Linked DNA regions of Homo sapiens: region 2 is linked to region 1. Evidence: promoter capture Hi-C in 16 types of primary human blood cells and fetal thymus (Javierre and others, 2016). All regions are on one chromosome and are shown on one strand. The core of a region is centred on a gene start or on the middle of the fragment in contact, and the rest is flanking DNA. Distances in the headings are between cores, read along the strand shown.

Evidence for each region. The method cuts DNA at HindIII sites, captures the fragments that hold promoters and counts their contacts. A CHiCAGO score of 5 or more calls a contact.
Region 2: a fragment that was not itself captured here is called in contact with the fragment with the promoter of WBP4 in region 1 in 1 of 17 cell types (total B cells); the score reaches 5.2 in total B cells.

The regions. Positions count from the first base shown.
Region 1 is chr13:41,056,759-41,064,436 of GRCh38, reverse strand. WBP4 (WW domain binding protein 4) reads right to left here and starts at 2,928. Exons shown (of 10, transcript NM_007187.5): 1 at 2,762-2,928; 2 at 1,721-1,793. The coding sequence starts at 2,763. TRE-TTC1-2 (tRNA-Glu (anticodon TTC) 1-2) reads left to right here and starts at 3,628; the gene lies at 3,628-3,699. It also overlaps a transcript of ELF1 not described here. RefSeq lists a silencer at 4,134-4,313. The HindIII fragment of the contact is 8,920 bases long and covers 90-7,678 here.
Region 2 is chr13:39,682,366-39,687,409 of GRCh38, reverse strand. All of the region lies in intron 8 of COG6 (component of oligomeric golgi complex 6), which reads right to left. Among named protein-coding and RNA genes, the nearest start is that of MIR4305, 21 kb to the right of the region's middle. The HindIII fragment of the contact is 214 bases long and covers 3,266-3,479 here.

The sequences.
Region 1 (7,678 bases), core at 1,679-4,178:
CATTTACCCTTTGACACAGCAATTTCATTTCTGGTAATTTATTCTATAGATATACCTGCACATGTACAAAATCATGATATACACAAGCTTACTGACTGCAGCACTGTTTGCAATAACAATACGGTATCCATCTCTAAGGGACTGACTGGTTAAACTATGGTACATTCTCATAGTCTACTGTAACAGAGAGAAAGAAGCTCTTTATGTATGGATACAAAGGGAGCTCCAGTTACATACTGTTAAATTTTTTAAAACTAGTGCAGAATAATATATACAGTACATTACCTTTTATGTATGCTGGAATAAGAACTTGTGTCTACATGCATGTAGAAACAATGGAAGGATAGGCAAGAAAATGAAAAAAAAAAATGATAACCTATGGGGAGTGATGGCCACTAGATGACTGGGGACAGGGGCTGGTGAGTGAGCGCAATTATCTATTTAAACAATCAGAAATGCTCCCTAAATTACAAGTTTCTAGTTAAATGCAGTAAGAAATTCCTCACAAGCTCTGCAAAATAAGTTCTGTCAATCAAATCTTACATGATGCATTAACTGAGCTATTTTAAAATACTACCATGAATTCATCTTTAAAGTGTGACTTTGTAAAGCAGATAATCCTCCTGTTTTTCATACATTGCGTTTCCTAAAGTTGATTACACTACACAAAGAATACAATATTAAAGGACCATTCAAAATTAAATTAATTTTGTTTCTAATTAAAGGTTAAATCAATGTGTATTACCAACTCAAGAAGATAAAGACAGACTACACTGGAAGGGATTACTTACTCTAGATAACTCACAAAATTCATTTTACAGCCTAGGTACCTCCAAGAAAGAGAGACTTTAAGTGACCTGTGTGGTTTTAAAAATTCATGGTATTTATTTATAAGGATAGCCTAGGTAAAATAGTGAAGAACTTTAGCAACTATCCAAAAAGACCAAAACATCAAAAAAAAATCCAAATCCTAAACACCTTGCAGGTAACAGGAAATAAATGTCTACAGAAGAAATCCACAGCATTGTTAAAATATGAGACTACTATTCTTTGTGCATCCAACTTTGCCAAGTAAAAACGGTATCAACATAAAATATATTTAACAGATACCCTAGTGTTTATGTGGTATGTACATAGTATTTTGACATGCAAGAGGGGAGAAAAATCAGCGGTGTGCTTTTTGCTTTACATCTTCAAAACTGGATCTCAACTATGAGACAGACTAACAACATACCTAACAGAGTTGTTACTTTGTTTCATGAGAAAGGAAATAATGGTGTTCTTTCAAATTTAAGCATCTAAAGATACACAGCTCTGCATTAAATACACTTGATTATTTCTAGACCACAAAATATACAAGAAAAACTAAACATGTTGCTTTTATTTTTTAAGGGCTTTCCACAATTCTTTGGGTATGACAGTATTATGAACACCACCATTATAATATAGGTGCTTCATAACATGAATGATATGACCAACTCATTGCCCATTTCCCAAAAGGCCACAGAGAAATAATTTAATATATAATCAAAGTCAGGTTGATGAAAAGGAAGAAGGCTCACAGCTTTCATAGGGGACTGAGAAGACAGAAATCTTCTGATGTTTTGAAAATGCAAGAGCAATGTACATAAAAGTGCTTTGTAAACTGAGTTTACATCAAAAAGGAGCACTTCATTCAACACAATTATTATTAGAATCTCTAACAGCGGAATTATCATACAGGCCTATTGTCTGCTATCCAGCACTTGCAGTAATCACAGAATTTCTTTGGCTGTGACTTCCAGTAGTCCGCCCTGAAAAAGAGAGACAACAAGGCTAAGCTCATGTAAAACTTAAAAAAGGTTAAATTCTGCATGCTTTACAGTTTTTAAAGTTTGAAATATATGCCCCTGCTACTGAATCTTGTCTTGTTATGTATAGTCGTTTTATTATTTATCTGGTTGGAGCACAGTCAATTGAAATTCTGTTGCCAGCGGAGTAGAAAAAGTCTGTATCTGATTCATTACAAAACTCCCTTCAATAAAATGGCTTTCAAAAATTCCTCACTTGTTATCGTCATCGTTATGAAAAACTAAGGAACATCTTAGAAGAACATTTATCCTTTCTGGCTTTGGGGGAGGTTGCTGTAATGGAAACCTGAAGAAACTCATAAAGTTTGCCTTAAATCAAGTTATTCCCACCAAGAGAACAACGTACAAGACTACTCTGGGGAAAACTGTAGTTCCTCCCAGACTCTCAGTTAAAACAAACTGTTCTTGAGCCTCAAGGCAAGAGAGAACTGGAAAAGCCATGGGACTTCGTAGACGGCCGACAAAAAAAAAAAAAAAAAAAAAAAAAAAACCATTACGCTATCCAGGGCTGGCCGCTTCCAGTGGGCGGGGGAGGCCGCAGCCCAGCCCTAGTTTCACAATACCCTAGGGTTCAGGGGCTTCGGAAACCCAAGGGGTGCATGCGACCCCCGACAGCGTCGTAGAGAGAGCACTGCGTCGCTTCACCCGCGGCCGTCCAACCAGCCCCCTGAACCGGCCGCCGGCCTCCCCCTAGAGCCCGTGCCCCATACCCCAGGGCGTTCAGCGGGGTAACATTTCTACCCCGCCCTGAGAACCGGCCCTGCAGGTCTGGGGCCGGTCCCGAGCGAGTTAAGAACGCGTCTGTCACGCCCCCGGCCGAAGGGCGGGAGGAGAGGAGGGGAAGACCCGGGCGAGAAAGGGCGGCCCAGAGAAACAACACCTCGTTGTTCAGGGCCTGAGACCCAACTCACATGACTGCGCCAGCCGCTCTGCAAGTCGTCCAGGGTTCCACTCAGACTCGCGCTTTCCCAGCGGGACGAGTCGAGCTCTTCCAGCCGCCCGATGCCCACCCGAACCTCCCTCCGATCCAGACACCTTACTCAGTCCCCGGGACCAGCGTTCCGCTGTTCCCAACTACGGGTGCCCAGACGATCCAATCCGCGTTCGAAATCGCCTCCTCTCCCCTCCCCCTACAGGGGCGGTACTCCCGGCTCCAAAGAGGTGGGGTCGGTATAAAGGGGTTGAGGTCACCGGGAAGGGGTAAAAGCGCGACGGGACCTGAGCTGAAGGACGGGATCTCAAGCCTCAAGTCCCTGCGCCATCCCGCCGTCTCTGTGTCCTCCCCTGGGGCCCAAAACCTCCATCCTCCTTCTAGGCTCGCTGGCTCAAGGCCAAGGAGCTCAGCGCGCCGCCTCCGCCCGGAACGCAAACAGCTGTTCCCAGAGACGTCTCCGCTCTCAACTTTGCCAACTACTCCGCACGCACTTTGACCAGCGGAGCAACCGGGACCTGTGGGTCGGGGTCCTCTGGCGGAGTTAAAAAAAAAAGAGGTGAAACTGCGGGACCGGCGCTGCGAGTCGCTAGGCTTCGCCTCAAACTTTGCTGTTGCAGCGGAGCGGCCCCGCCCCTCCTCTCCCCTACGACGCCCACGCGCTCGGATGGGGCTTGTTCCCTAGCTCGGGAGCGTGTGGGCAGCAGCAGCGGCGGCGGCGGCGGCGGCGGCGGCGGCGGCAGCAGCAGCTTCAGTAGCGCAGAGGCGGCGGTGGCGAGAGGTGCGGCGAAGGAGGCAGAGGCACTTATGCTTGTCAGGTGGGTCACGGCAGTTTCTCATAGCACTTCCCATATGGTCTAGCGGTTAGGATTCCTGGTTTTCACCCAGGTGGCCCGGGTTCGACTCCCGGTATGGGAACGCTTCCTTATTTTTCTTTTTTTTTGCAACTATCGGTTTGGAGGGCTGACTTTTTAAATCTTGTGTTCTGGCTCCTTTCTTGTCCCCGTCTGGGTGAGTTTGTAGAAAATAAGCATTACTGTAGTTAGTGGCGCCAGGAGCTGGGCTGCGGCTTTTGGAGCCTCGAGTGCCACGCCGTGCCTGCTGGAGAAGCGAATGCGCTTCCGATCCTTCTCCCTCCCGCCTCCGGCTCACGGGGCTGGTGGGCCCTGAGGGAGTTTCACTTTCCCCTGGGCTGCTCCCCCGCCCCTCCGGCCCGTAGTTTTCCAGACGCCCGGGAGGTGATGATTAACTCCGGCCTTGCGTTATCTCCTCCCAGCGCCCCCGTCCGGCCCACACCCTCTTCAGCCGCTCTTGCGACTCTTCCTATGCAGGACGGGCTGACCCCCCTGCCCTGGGCGCCCCAGAGCCCGCGCCCGGACCAGTAGCTCTAGTGGTTCTCTGGCCGCAGGGTATTTACGAGGCCCCACGGAACACAGTGTGCCTTCCGCGCCCTCCCGGGGGGACGCGCTTTCCCGGCCGCGCAGCCGCCCGGCGCCCCTTTCCGCCGCGTGTGCGCTCGCGTCTCCACCCGCGGCGCCTGAGCAAGCGCGAGGCCGGCCTGCGAGGTCTTCCCAACTTGACTTAAGGGGCGCTGGTCGCAGTCACGGAAAGTACCCTCGAAAAAAGGCCTTTGGGAACGAGAATCTTTTTTCTTTCCCTTTAAAAATACACACCACGAGCTATGGAGGAGAAAAATACCACTCTGATGAGATGGCTTTAAATAAGTATATCGACTTTCCAAAGGGTCTAACATTTTGAGCGCGGTTGATTTAAAGAAAAAAATTGATTAAAACAACGGCAAAACATCCTGGGGTGGAGGTGGGGCTTGGGAAAGAGAAAATTGGCTGGAGACTGGGGAGGGGACGTTAAAACAAAGTTTCACTGTATTTTTAAATATAGAAGCCCTGTGTTTATTACAAAGAAGGGACAGCTGTGTCAGCAGCATGTGAGCTGTAAATGAAACAAAAGCGTTATCTTAAATGCAAGCTGAAATTAGAAAATAGGGTCGGCTATAATGTTTATTGGGCCTCTGGGAACAAACGAAGAAGGAAAAAGTGACTCTTGTAGATGGGTTTCTGGTCAGTGCCATTACTGAAAGCAGATGTTTTGGTTGTTAGTATGTGTGTTCCCAGACTATTTTGTAGCTTTAACTGCACAGTAAATTTGTTAATGTGATCTGCGTGATTAAGGATTAATTAGGCTTACCTTGTTAAAAAGAAAGAAAAAGCCTAAGTATTTTAAATCGTCTTCATTAATTCAAATATTTGTGTGTTTGCTACACACCAAGCACCACCACATGCTTTTGAAGTTACTGATGTTTGTATTCTTTATGTTAGCTAGTGGATAGAATACTGAATGGAATAATATTTTGGTCTTTGTGATTAGCTGTGTGATGAGACTTTTCACCTTCTCTGTTCTCTGGCTTTAGAGCCATACATTTTTGATAACACGTATCACTCACAAATTTTAAATAGAGTTACAAGAATTGTTGAGCGATTCCTGAATAGATAATGAAAGTGGAATTTTCATTTAAATAAGTAATAGTGTGTCATTATTAAGAAGCAGTTACTAAAGAATTACAGTAGTTGAAAATTTGGAAAGAAGGAAAGATAACTCGGATAACTCTGCCTTAATTGTCCCCAGAGAGGGCTTAACTTTTGACTTTTTCTTCTTTTTTTTGTTGAGACGGAGTCTCGCTCTGTTAACCCAGGCTGGAGGGCATTGGCGCGATCTCAGCTCACTGCAACCTCCGCCTCCCGGATTCAAGCTATTCTCGTGCCTCAGCCTCCCAAGTAGCTGGGACTACAGACACCCGCCACCACGCGTGGCCAATTTTTGTATTTTGAGTAAAGACAATGTTTCACCATGTTGGCCAGGCTGGTCTCGAACCCCTGACCTCAGGTGATCCACCCACCTCGGCCTCCCAAAGTGCTAGGATTACAGGCATGAGCCACCACGCCAGGCCTTGACCTTGTATTTTGTAATGAGTTTACAACATTGTACCAAATGGTGCTAAAATGGATGTTATTTTCAACTGTGCACTCAGTAATTGCAAATAGTTGTACTATATACCTGGGGGTGAACACAAAGGAAGTAGTTGCATCATCTCTGTATAAAACACAGATTTATCTTTCGTGTAGTTGTGCATTACGTAGAATATGGTAAGGCAACATCTGAGTTGTAGAAGTGCTACTGGAGTAACAGAGGTGAGGAATCGGTTCTGCTCAAGGGAGAGGACTGGAGAAGAGACCTAGAGGGGAGAGTGGACCTTGAAGAACTGATTGGATTTCTCCTGTTGGGGAATGTGAATCATAAAGCTGAGGTAGGGGGAACAAGTATGAGGCTGGCAAGTAGTCGGTTTGGCAGGAGCACAGAGTGCCTGCAGGGAGGGCCATGGGAGATCAAGCTGGGAATGTAGAAAGGAATTTTAACTTGATAAATTTTGACTAGGTAACAGGTTCTTTTATCAAGGAGTGACATTTTATGTCACAAAAATTTTTAAACCATTTCTGTCTCTTGGAAAACCCAAAGGTAGCAGTGGCATGTGAAAAATTCTTGTTTTAAAAGATTCAAACAATAAAGAAACATGTAGAATATTTTGTGTCCGTACATTTTATGTTTAGGAGTTGAATATTAATTTGTAATTAATAGAATGGAGAAAAGCAATCAGTTAATTAGAATTCACTTTATAGGAATGAAATCTAGGCTTAAAGTGTGAGAATAATCTGTCTTGCTTTGTTGAAAGTGACCTTGGTATTCGAAGACAGAGCTGCTCACTACTGTCAGTAAGACGTATATCTTAAATTGATTAAGGCTAGGTAATCAGTTTGTGAGGATTCATTCTTAACGCTTGTGCCATTGGCAGGCATATTTTAGGTGCTGTCTCTTGGGCCATAAATTAGTGACACTGAGTGCTGTGGATTTACCCAAATAACCTCTTTAATATTTGCTACTGTTAGGTGTAATTAGAAGATACATGAAAGAGGCAGGGTGTGGTGGCTTATGCTTGTAATCCTAGCACTTTGGGAGGCTGAGGCAGGTGGATCAACATGGCGAAATCCCATCTCTACCAAAAATACAAAAAATTAGCCAGGCGTGGTGGCACCCGCTGCACCTGTATCAGCTATTCAGGAGGCCAAGGTGGGAGGATCACTTGAGCCCTGGAGGCAGAGATTGCAGTAAGCCAGGATCTCAGGATCGTGCCACTGCACTCCAGCCTTGGAGACAGAGAGAGACTCCATCTCGGGGTGGGGGGAAAAAAAAGAGAAAAAGTGAGAGAGCCTGGACAACATAACAAGAGCCTGTCTCTACAAAAATAAAATTAAAAAAAAATTAGCCAGGTGTGATGCCACATGCCTGTAGTCCTAGCTACTTGCAAGCCTAAGGTGGGAGGATCCATTGAGCCCAGGAGTTCAAGGCTGCAGTGAGCTGTGATGTTGCCGCTACACTCCAGGTGACAGAGCAAGACCCTAAGACCTTATCTCTTAAAAAAAAAAAAAAAAAAGACGTGAAAGTTCAGTAAATGTTTGCAGAGATGAACGCTGGTATTTAAAGAAGTAGAAGGGATTTTAAAGCAATTACTGCATTTCAGCTAAAATCCGAAGACCTTATCATGGTCTCATAGGTCCAACATTATCTGGACTTTACCCATCTAACCTCAGGTCCTACCTTATCTACCACTTCACTGTATCTTGGCTACGTAGGCTTCCTTTTTGCCATGCCAAACTTATCCTTGTCTCGGAGTTTTGTTTCTTGCCTTTTTCCTTTGCCTGGAATATTCCCCCTGTAGCTCTGCACATCTCAGGTCAACATTACCTTCTCAGATCTTTTCTGACCACTTTAGCTTGAGACTTCCTCTTCCTTGGTTACTTTCTGGTTACTTTATGACATTTTTTTC
Region 2 (5,044 bases), core at 2,123-4,622, 1.4 Mb after region 1:
AAAAGCACTTAAAGCTCCTTTAGATATTCGGTCAAGCAACATTGCTTTCAAACAAGAAAAAAATATTTAAGAGATAACTTCAGCTCATTGAAAATTCAATCAAAAAGTAAAAACTTTTACCCCTCCTAAGAAACAATGCTGGGATTTGGGACTAAAGCAGAGGCAGCAGTAATAAGGGATAAAGCAATGGACTTAGTAAAAGTAGGAAAATCAAGCCAAGGTGGGAAGACTTAACTTTTTAGGTTTCAGTATATTCACTATACTAGGTTTCGGTATATTTCAGTATACATATTTGCAGTCTAAAACATGATGCTCTACTGTTTTACGTAAAGCCATAACAGTTCTCAAAAACTGATTATAATTAGAACTCTGCAAATCCAAGGCTGGGTGCGGTGGTTCACACCTGCAATCCTAGCACTTTAGGAGGCCGAGGAAGGTGGTCACTGGAGCCCAGGAGTTTGAGACCAGCCTGGGCAAAATAATGAAACCCTTTCTCATTATTAAAAAAAAAAAATAGCCAGGCATGGTGGTGCATGCCTATAGTCCCAGCTACTCGGAAGGCTGAGGTAGGGGGATCACTTGAGCCCGTGAGGTTCAGGCTGCAGTTAGCAGTGACTGCTCCACTATACTCCAGCCTGAGCCACAGAGCAAGACCCTGTCTCAGAAAAAATAAAAGAATTCTGCAATCCCAAAATTGACATTTTTCTCTTCTACATTAAAAAAGTCTTCTTTACACATACTATCACAATCTATCACCAAAATTTGCTCCAAAAATTGCTATCCATCTTTAAAAGCTTATTTTGACTCCAATATTAGACATAACAGATGTTCCTTAAATTTACTGACCAAACACATATACAAGCAAATACCTTTTTAAAAAACATGTATTAAGAAGTCACCTATTATAATTGAAAAGGCATGGAAAGGCTTTCTAAGGTGAAGGAACTGGTAGGGAAGGAAAGCTTTTAACTGGGGAATAGGACAATTTGGGATTCAATTTATAAAAATGGCCTGGAGCTCTCTGGAGTGCCCATTTCTTTGACTTGACTCAGCCTTGTTTTCCATTATCACCACCATTCCTGACATCCATCCCTCAATTGAAAGTTCTTTCCATTTTAAAAGTATAAAGAAAAACAAAATATATTTTAGCAGTCTTGATGTCAGCAGATTCTAGACTAACTTTTAAATCTCTAAACAGTATTCTACCATACTAAATTTTAAGAATTATGTCAATAACCTATATATAAACAAAAATTACCAAAACTTCCCAAGATACCCAAAATAATTAATATCTTAGGCTACATAGCTTTCTTTCATATGCTGTTAATTGGATGAAAAATCCACATTTTGGTAAACATGTGAAAGACGGTTTATTTCCAAATCAAAGAGAAAGTCTGTAGAACTGGCAAATAGCTATAAATATTTAGGAATATGAACCTTTTTTGAGGACTGTTTACTATTAACCAGACTATGGTTCTTTGTGGGTTTGTCTTCCATTAAAAAGAAATGGTTTTGAGATTCCCTGTGGTGACATACTACAGAAAAGGGGAAGTGCAATATCCAGCTAAGTTTTGCTAAATTGCATAATTGCCTTGCATTTACTATTTTTTAAACAAATTAGAACCAAAATGCTCATTGCTATTTTTTCCCTCATGCTCTTAAATTATTAATCCATTTAGTGTGAAGAATGCCTTCTTTTAAATGATCACCTGATTCTCTGAAATAATGAACTTATGACTGCTTATCACAGCATAAAATTCACAAACGTTTAACTTTTTAAGTATATATAGCTAATCCTCATTCCCAAGACCCTACTAACTATATTAAAAATAAACAGCATAATTTGTTTCTAGGACTGTCCACTGGGACGACAGCTGTAACAGAATCCAGTGAATCTTAAAATCCAGTGTATTTTAAATAGGGGGTAAATTACCAAGCCTGGCAAACACTGGAATTTCATCTGTTCAATACTATAAAATATCAATAAACATTAATATTAATGTCAATCCTCCTATAGAACAAATATAATTTAAAGCAAAAACAGCATAAGCCACGTGAACCTTCAATATCTTTAGACATGAAACATCCTTCCCAGAGACAGAAGAAAAAGTCTTTGACCAAAATCAGACATTCTTCCAACAATAATCAAAAATCAAAATGGAGCTTTTTCAGAGTGAATGTTCAAATTATGTAAATATTCTCAAATACCTCAAGTTAAAATTAAAAGTCTCATTTTAAAAATTGTGTTTAGCTACAGTTAAAGAAATTCTGGTCAAAAAGCAAATTAAAAGAAGAAAAATTTTTATCAAAAAGCAAATTAAAAGATAATAGTAAAGAAGTGCCTCTTTGAAACACAACAAATACATAAAGAAGGAAGAAAAATCAGCATTGTATGTATTACTACATTTTAAAATAACTTATATTCTAAAGGCTTACCAAAGAAAATAAATTATCAAATTTTTTCACTTCATTTATAATTGTACATGATTTATTATTAAAAGTCAATAATGCATTAGCATTCCAGTTATACACCACATAAGAAACACTGAGTATGGCAACTTTCCCCACGGATTTCAATAATTGACATTTTTCTTGTATATAATACTTACATTATTTGAGACACAATAATGGACAGTGAAACTTTTATACATTACTTATTAAGTTCATATAGTGCCATCTGGTGGTTAACATGATACATTATTAAGTTTTCCCTAAATGTAAGGAAACTACCACTTTGAAAATAATTACTTAATGAAAGGCCAATTTTCTCTTTTTTAGCATTCATCTTGTTCTAATCATCTGGTCTTAAAAACTTACTTTCCTACTCAACTTCTAAATGTGTCTTAAAATCTTCCAAATTGGCCAGGCGCGGTGGCTCACGCCTGTAATCCCAGCACTTTGGGAGGCCGAGGCGGGTGGATCACGAGGTCAGGAGATCGAGACCATCCTGGCTAACACGGTGAAACCCCGTCTCTACTAAAAAATACAAAAAATTAGCCGGGCGAGGTGGCGGGCGCCTGTAGTCCCAGCTACTCGGGAGGCTGAGGCAGGAGAATGGCGTGAACCCCAGGGGGCGGAGCCTGCAGTGAGCCGAGATTGCGTCACTGCACTCCAGCCTGGGCGACAGCTAGACTCCGTCTCAAAAAAAAAAAAAAAAAAAAAAAAATCTTCCAAATTGCCATTACTGCCCCCTGCTTCTTAGCATATGCCCTTCACAGATAAACCTTCTTTGCCTATTATAGTTCCATTCTTTATCTTTCAAGCTTTTTCCCAGATTGCCATGTAGCCCTCAGATACATCCCTCCTTAGTTGAAAACTTTCTAGTCATCTCCTCTCAAAATAAAAATAATATCTAAAATTTAGTGATGTACCAAGCATTACACTAAGTGCCTTAAGTGAACAATCTAACTTAATCTTCACATCAACCCTGTAAAATAGGCACTATTATTATCCTCATTTTACAGCTAAGGAAACAAGCTTATAAAGGTACACGGACTTCTCAAAGAAATTTGACTCAAGAACCCACCTTATAGCCATTTAATATTGCTCCTTTCCAAGTTTTGATAAAGAACTATAACTCAGTGAAAATTTATTTGCATGGCAGAAGTCAGCTGTTGAAAACAAACAAAGGTGCCCAAAACACAGAAAGGCTTTTTTTTTTTAATACATAAAAGATTAACCTTGTGAATAAATATTAATCTGTAGACAATGCAACAGCTGTTAAAATCAAACGCCAAATGTTTTAAGTGCTAAAAGACTCATAATTAATGTCAATATGTTAAAGTGAAAAAGTTGGGAAAGAAATTTTAAAGCAGGAATAAACTGTTAAGCTGCTGATCAATGGTAAACATTAACTTATCTTATGTATATGCACAACATTCAGGGCTATTATGATCCAGCTGTTGCTCCTAATTCAATAGCCAGTGCAAGCTTTTACAATTAATTTCCCAAAGGTGCATTATCTCTCAATGTATATCTTTGCATTACTGTTCCCTCAACCTGCAAACTGTTCTTCCTTTACTTCTAGGAAAATGCCTATTCAGCCTTCAGAACTCACTTTATACCTAATTCCTTAGGAAACTTTCACTGATGCTCATCTCTTTCCCCTACACCAGAATACTTGAGCCACACAGCATCTGGCACATGACTTCTAGACTATCAATTAGTGTATTCAATTAAAATGCGTTTGTTTATCTCTGGTTCCATAAAATAAAGCAGTTTGAGGGCAGTGCTTTACTGACGTTGTGTTTCTAGAATTTAAAATGGTGCTTAACACATAGTACTCAGTAAGTAACACTGGGGTGTTATTATTTTACACAGCTGTTCAGCATTTGTGTTCTGTGACCTGATGATAGGATAAGTAGTGTTCCAATCAGAAAGTAATGGGGAGGTCCTCTAAAAATAGTATAAACAGATTCTGAAAGGGATGATTCAAAGCAGGATGCACTACCTTGGTAAGAGTCCCCTCGTTTCCTGTTTTCAGAATTATTAATATCATCAACCCCTACATCTACCTAAAGCTTATGCTAATACTACTCCAGGCATTAAAGAAAGTATTTACCTTTTATTTTATAAAAATTAAAAGAATAAAATTAAAATATAAAATAATAAAAAACATATCAACAAATACAAAATGCATTAAATTCTTATCCAAAACATTACCACATAGCTCTTGTTTGGCATCAATTACAGGATCAAAGACCTGGGCCCTCTCCTCCTAAATCCTATTAACAGATTACCTTGATATTAAATATTCTTTTTTCATCTCTGCATAACCATATTTCTCAGTACTGATATGACTTCAGTCTCTGTAGGGAAGTATTCATACAGGAGTTTTAGTTACTTACAATTCTAAGGGAGTTAATGAGACGACAGGGGAAAAGTCACTGAACCTCTATATAAGTAAGAGGTAGTCTAGATACAGAGACACTTTGGTTTCTCTTTCCATATTGTATTCTATAGTATGTAAAATTCAAATAAGCTGATACCCCATGAAACAAATTCAAGTTAAGGTGAACAGTATTGTTGTAAATTATTATAAATA